2 separate regions of the Homo sapiens genome follow, and region 2 is linked to region 1. Evidence: promoter capture Hi-C in human tissues and cell types (Jung and others, 2019). All regions are on one chromosome and are shown on one strand. The core of a region is centred on a gene start or on the middle of the fragment in contact, and the rest is flanking DNA. Distances in the headings are between cores, read along the strand shown.

Region 1 (3,165 bases), core at 321-2,820:
TATTATTCTTTTTTGTAGCATCGGAGTCTTGCTATGTCACTCTAGCTGGCCTCAAACTCCTGGCCTCAAGCGATTCTCTTGCCTCAGTTTGCAAACTGCTGGGATTACAGACATCACCATGCCAGGCCACAACCCAAACTTGAAAAAGAAAATCTAAGTGGCCTTAGAAGAGTTTGCAAGTCAGCTGACCAATGTGGTACCTCCTTAAGGAGGGCCTCTGAGGCCCGATGAAAAAGGCTTATATAAAAGGCTCATGACCAGCTCTGCCAGTGATGAACATGTGTCAAGTCGTTCTGCTGTCCCCAACTCCCGGACCCAGGTGGCTCTGAATTAGCTTCAGCTAATAAAGAACAAAGACGGGGGGCAGAAAGGCTCCCCAAACTTGTGCAAATCCAGTGAGAAAACACTTTGCACATCATCTGTCTCAGCTGTTCTGCAGGTGAGGCACACTCAGAACTGCACCACCCCAGGCAAGCAGTTTGCCAGGACTCGGGGGCCTCAGGGTTTCATCTCGGGGCCTCCGCCTGCACCAGCGAGTGGGCCTGGCTCAGGGCGAGCCTGTCCTTCTTCTCCTTCTGCAAGACCTGCTCCTCCCACAGCGCCTGGTCCACCTGATCGTCGGTGAGCACGACAGGCTTGTACTTCTCATCGAAGAGCCGCTCGTTGGTCTCGGAATGCAGCTGCTGGGGCCCGACCACCCGCAAATGCGCCGGCAGGTGCAGGAATTCGTCGTCGTTGATGTCGCAGTCGCGCATCCAGGCCCCCAGCACCCACCAGCGACCCACGAAGCCCACGTCCAGGACCCGGCCGGGGAAGTCGGTCCAGCGGGGCTGCAGGTAGCGGCAACGCGCCTGGTAGAGGCTGGCCTGGGCGTCGAAGGGCGCCTCGTACACCAGCGAGCAGAGCCCCAGGTTGACGTAGCGCAGGCGGCCACGGCCCCGCAGCCAGAGCAGCCTCTGCACGAAGGCTTCGGACTCGCGGTTGCGGGTGGCCGGCGCCAGCAGCAGGAGGGTCCCCGACGCCTCCAGCAGCGCCTCCTCGAAGGCACCCTCGCTGGGCGCCAGCGTGAAGCAGGCCGCCGCGCCGCCCAGCAGACCCACATACACAGCGGCGCGCCCCGGCCGGGCCCTAGCCTCCGCCGAAGCGTCCCTGCAGGCCTCGGCGTAGTCCCGGAGCAGCGCGCGGGCCCAGGACCCTGAGGGGAGAGGAGCGCGGTAAGAGTGATCCGGCCGCGGCGGCCACCCACCCTGTCGCGGCGGCCACCCACCCTGCCGCCTTCCGCCGCTACTCACCCAGCCGCGCCCACACTCCCGGCTTCGCCACTACCGCGTCGCCCGCCTCTGCGCGGCGCCGGGACCAAAATCTCCTCAGAGCCGCCGCGGCCATCCTCTTCCGTCTTGGGGGTCCTTGCTCCGGGAAGAAACTCCTGATACCCGACGTTAAGAGCCCGGGAGTCTCTTCTGCGCAAGCGCCAACTTTACCGGAAGTGGCTTCCCAACGGGAGAGGATAGAAAGAGGACAGGCGCCGGATGTTGCTGTCAGGTCTGAGTCGGTTGGAGTCTGACGGGTAGGCGAGACGCGCAGGCGCAGAGAGCCCCAGCCACGCCGGCCCAGGTGGCCTCAGGTGAGGGGGGGCGGAGCGCACCTGTGGGGACGGGACGACGAGTTCAAGCCTCCGTGGGTGCAGTTGGTCGCCAGGTAGGGCTGGGGGCCGAGGGACCGGCTCGGGGGCGGGGGGGAAGTGTGCCTGACCGGTCTCTGTCCTCAGCGAGGGATGCGGAGACGCCCCTGAACGACCATGGCATCGGCCGACGAGCTGACCTTCCATGGTGAGTGCGGCCCCGACGTGGCCGGATCTCCCACTCCCGCCCCGGGCCAGAACCTCCCCCCGATACGGCTTCCAATTTCTCTACCCCGAAGCCTAGGCGGCTGTGAACCCTGACCCAGGAGTGAGACCCATCTCTGACTCGAACCCCGCCCCCGCCCTGAACTCAGACCTCAAACCCGAGCCTCTCGTCCCCAGACCCTGACCCCATCCCAGCGTCAACCCTAAGTTGCAGTTCCACTTTAGGAGGAAGGGAACAGATGTCCTCCGGATGCCTCCAAACTGAGGAAGTTGGGCCCCACCTTGGGGGAGATCAATGGCTCAGCAGAGCCTCCGCCCCCAGATGAGCATCGGTTTAGCTTGGGCCCAGTCGAGTTCTTTCCACCCCTCAAACGTGCGTGTGTCCCATATACCTCCTCCACAGAATTCGAGGAGGCCACTAATCTTCTGGCTGACACCCCAGATGCAGCCACCACCAGCAGAAGCGATCAGCTGACCCCACAAGGGCACGTGGCTGTGGCCGTGGGCTCAGGTGGCAGCTATGGAGCCGAGGATGAGGTGGAGGAGGAGAGTGACAAGGCCGCGGTGAGTCCCTGTGTCCTGCCTCCTTGCAGCCCCCAGCTGACCCAGGCTCTCCGGGCAGGCACTGAATGCCCGCAATGTGCAGCTCCTGCAGGAGCAGCAGCAGCAGCAGCAGCCGGGATTCTGGACCTTCAGCTACTATCAGAGCTTCTTTGACGTGGACACCTCACAGGTCAGGCTGGGGAGGCAGGTGGGATGGGGCTCAGAGTTATGCTCAGGGTTCAGCCACTCTTCCCCTGGGCAGGGTGCTGGTGATGGTGGGTGCTGGTGAACGAACTGTGGTGCTCTCAAAGGGTTATGGTGGGACTGGTTATGGATCGGGACTATGGGAACACAGGGGACACACACAATCTGGTGGGTTAGAGAAAGGCCTCCTGGGGGAGGTGAGGAATTGGCTGAGACCTAAAGGAGACAGAAGGCTTCCCTGGGGAATAGGGTAGGGAAGCAGGAGTATATGTTCCAGGCACAGGGAACAGCATATGCAGAAGACCAAAGATGGACTGGGCGCAGTGGCTCCTGCCTGTAATCCCAGCACTTAAGGGGGCCGAGGTGGGCAGATAACCTGAGGAGTTCAAGACCAGCCTGGCTAACATGGGGAAACCCCGTCTCTACCAAAAATACAAAAACTGCCGGGTGCGGGGTGGCTCATGCCTGTAATCCCAGCACTTTGAGAGGCCTGGGTGGGTGGATCACCTGAGGTCAGGAGTTTGAGACCAGCCTGGCCAAACATGGTGAAACCCCGTCTCTACTAAAAATAC
Region 2 (3,165 bases), core at 409-2,908, 1.5 Mb before region 1:
ACACCAAAACCAGACAAAGACATGTCAGAAAAAGAAAACTATAGGCCAGTGTCACTGATGAATATTGATGCAAAAATCCTCAACTCAATACTAGCAAACTGAATTTAACAATACACCAAAAAGATCATTCATCATGACCAAGTGGGCTTTATCCCTGGGATGCAAGGATGGTTCAATATATGCAAATCAATCAATGTGATGTATCATTTCAACAGAATAAAGGGCAAACACCATATAATCATTTCAATGTGCACTGAAAAAGCTTTTGATAATATTTAACATCCCTTCATGATAAAAACCCTAAAAAAAAACTGGGTATAGAAGCAGCTACCTTAACATAATAAAAGCCATATATGGCAGACCCACAGCTAGCATGATAATGAATGAGGAAAAACTGAAAGCCTTTCCTGTAAGATCTGGAACACAATAAGAATGCCCACTTTTACCACTGTTGTTCAGCACAGTACTCGAAGTCCCAGCTAGAGCAATAAGTCCAAAAAAAAAAAAAAAAAGAAATAAAGGGCATCTATATTGGGAAGGAAAGGAAGAAGTCAAATTATCCTGGTTTGCATATAATATGATCTTATATCTGGAAATACCTAAAGACTCCACCAAAAAAGTATTAGAACTGAGAAATAAATTCAGTAAAGTTGCAGGATACAATATTAACATACAAAAATCAGTAACATTTTTATATGCCAACAGTGAACAATCTGAAGCTACTTGAGAGGCTGAGGTGGGAGGATTGCTTGAGCTTGGGAGGTAGAGGTTGCAGTGAGCCATGATGGCCCCACTGCACTCCAGCCTAGGCAACAGAGCAAGACCCCATCTCAAACAACCAAAAACGTGTAGAAGGATGGTTACCACAGGCTGGGAAAAGTAGTAGCGAGGAGTAGTTATGGGGGAAGTGGGGATGGTTAATAGGTATAAAAAATAGTTACAAAGAATGAATAAGACCTAGTATTTGCTAGCACAACAGAGTGACTATAGTAAAAAATAATTTAATTGTACATTGAAATATTTTGAAAAATTTCATTGAAAAAGAGTATAATTGGAGCCAGGCGCGATGGCTCACGTCTCTAATCCCAGAACTTTGGGAGGCCAAGGTGGGCGGATCACGAGGTCAGGAGTTCGAGACCAGCCTGGCCAACATGGTGAAACCCGGCCTCTACTAAAACATACAAAAATTAGCCGGGTGTGGTGGCGCGCACCTGTAATCCCAGCTACTCGGGAGGCTGAGGCAGAATTGTTTGAACCCACCTAGGAGGCGGAGGTCGCAGTGAGCCTCGCACCATTGCACTCTAGCCTGAGCCACGGAGCAAGACTCCCTCTCTCTCTCTCTCTCTCTCTCTCTCTCTCGGAAAAAAAAAAAAAAAAAAAAAAAAAAGTATAATTGTTTTGTCAGTCAGTGTACAGGAGGAAGAAGCAGGAGGTCCTATTGAGTACAGGCAGGAAATTCCGCTTAAGTGCAAATATCCCTCGGGAGGATTCAGATCAAAGAGCAGGGAGGAAGCCCGCCCTGCCAAGGGCTGTGTCAGGAACTTGCTCATCTGGCTCCACTCAGCTGTGCAAGATCGCTTCTTCTGTCAATCAGTCCACGAGGGGCGGCACCTGACGCCGTATCCAGTAAGGGCCGTGGGGCGGGTTCGTGGGAACTGTCAATCAGGCGCGCTTCCCAGAGGAGTGTGTGGTTGAAAAAGCCCGCGGCGTCTTCTCCACCCACCTGCGCTGGGCGCTCGGTGCTCGGCTCTGTAGCTAAGAGACGACCTGGAAGTTCCGTGGCAGCCTGTGTCCCGCGGGAACCCGCATTGGCAGCGGGAGCCGTCCGGAGGACCTGGGACACCGCGGAAGTCGGGAAATGGTGCGTGTGCTGGGCCGGCGTCCCGAGGCGGGGGAGGGGCTGGGTGGAACCTGCAGTAATCGGCTGTGGCTGGACCCGGGCCTCCCCAAGGGCTACTCCGGGATCTACGGACCCGGGTTCCCCTGGCGTAGGTCGGCCCTCGGCCGCAGGGTGGGGCTGGGCATGCAGCCGGGACCCCGGGCGTCCTGTCCCGTTCCTGCGCGGCGACTGCGGCCCCGGCGCCCTCTCTGGGCAGCTCCGCGCCCGCAGCCTCGCGTCTCCCGAGATTGTGCGGCTGTAAGCAACACAGGTTCGCGGCCCGACTCACTGCACCGAGACGCTGAGGGCTGCAGCAGAAACAGTTTAATAGCCAGAGAGGGGAGGACACCCCAGATCCGCCTCCCTGAGGGATTTGGGGTCTGGACGGGGGCGGCTGGGTGTAGGGTCGTTGGTTGGTGGGGAAGTGAGGGGTGAATCCTGGGACAGGAGGTGAAGAAACCGCATTCTGCTGAATGGGCTCCCTCGTTGGGACTTCAACCTGATTGGCGCCAGCCTTTGCTGGGATTCAGGATCTGAGAACTCCGGCGACTCTTGAGCAGTTCTCAGAGATCTTATCCCCAGGCACAATGGGGAAGCCGGCGGTCAGCGTCTGCTGTGACCTGACTCTCAGGGAGGCGGCCCCTTGAGGCAGCGGGGCTGAGGGCACCTGGTTAATATCTAACTGCAATCTCGCCTCCAGCCTGGCTCGCAGTTCCTGTGAACCCGGTGAGGAGGCTGCACGGTGACGACGAGTCACCAGGTGGAATCCAGACTCGTGTGTGGGGTTTGTGTGTGGGAGGAGCTGTGGTCTCCGTGGTCCTCAGTCCCTTCTTTCTTTCCAAGGGCGACCGTTTCCCCTCTGAGTCTTCCAAAGATGTGGTTAGCAGGGTCTCAAATCCACCACTGTGTTCTCTCATCCTGACTCCTCCTAGGGCTGGCAGCAAATCTCTTGGTTTCCAGAGACTTCCCCAGGCTAACCTTCTGTCCTTAATTCACAGCAACGGTATGAACTGTTTGGCCCCCAGGCGATATTTCACTAGTTTGTCATCTTGTTTTCAGCTAGCAATGTATGGCTTTTTCTTGAAAGAATTATTTTGGGTTCCTGAACACGGTGGGTCATTCCTGTAATTCCAGCACCTTGGGAGGCTAAGGCAGAGGTATTGCTTAATCTTAGTAGTTCCAGACCAGCCTGGGCAACATGGCAAGACCTTGTCTCTAGTATAAATGATAATAATAAAATTAGCTGGGCTTGGTAGCTGGCACCTGTAGTCGCAGCTACTCCTGAG

The links. Contacts are between HindIII fragments. The study calls those that stand out against the background at their distance.
Region 2: a contact is called between the fragment with the promoter of ZNF799 here and the fragment with the promoter of YIPF2 in region 1, in 1 of the 25 tissues and cell types used here (hippocampus).

What each region holds. Positions count from the first base shown.
Region 1 is chr19:10,927,044-10,930,208 of GRCh38, reverse strand. YIPF2 (Yip1 domain family member 2) reads left to right here and starts at 1,570. Exons shown (of 10, transcript NM_001321439.2): 1 at 1,570-1,698; 2 at 1,769-1,829; 3 at 2,250-2,410; 4 at 2,493-2,579. The coding sequence starts at 1,799. It overlaps TIMM29 (translocase of inner mitochondrial membrane 29), which reads right to left and starts at 1,398. Exons shown (of 2, transcript NM_138358.4): 1 at 1,293-1,398; 2 at 1-1,195. The coding sequence starts at 1,386. The coding sequence ends at 507. RefSeq lists silencers at 953-1,002, 1,043-1,322 and enhancers at 1,536-2,236, 2,237-2,939. The HindIII fragment of the contact is 42,517 bases long and covers 1-3,165 here.
Region 2 is chr19:12,399,764-12,402,928 of GRCh38, reverse strand. ZNF799 (zinc finger protein 799) reads left to right here and starts at 1,658. Exons shown (of 4, transcript NM_001080821.3): 1 at 1,658-1,861. The coding sequence starts at 1,859. RefSeq lists enhancers at 1,504-1,553, 2,274-2,363 and a silencer at 1,884-2,043. The HindIII fragment of the contact is 18,323 bases long and covers 1-3,165 here.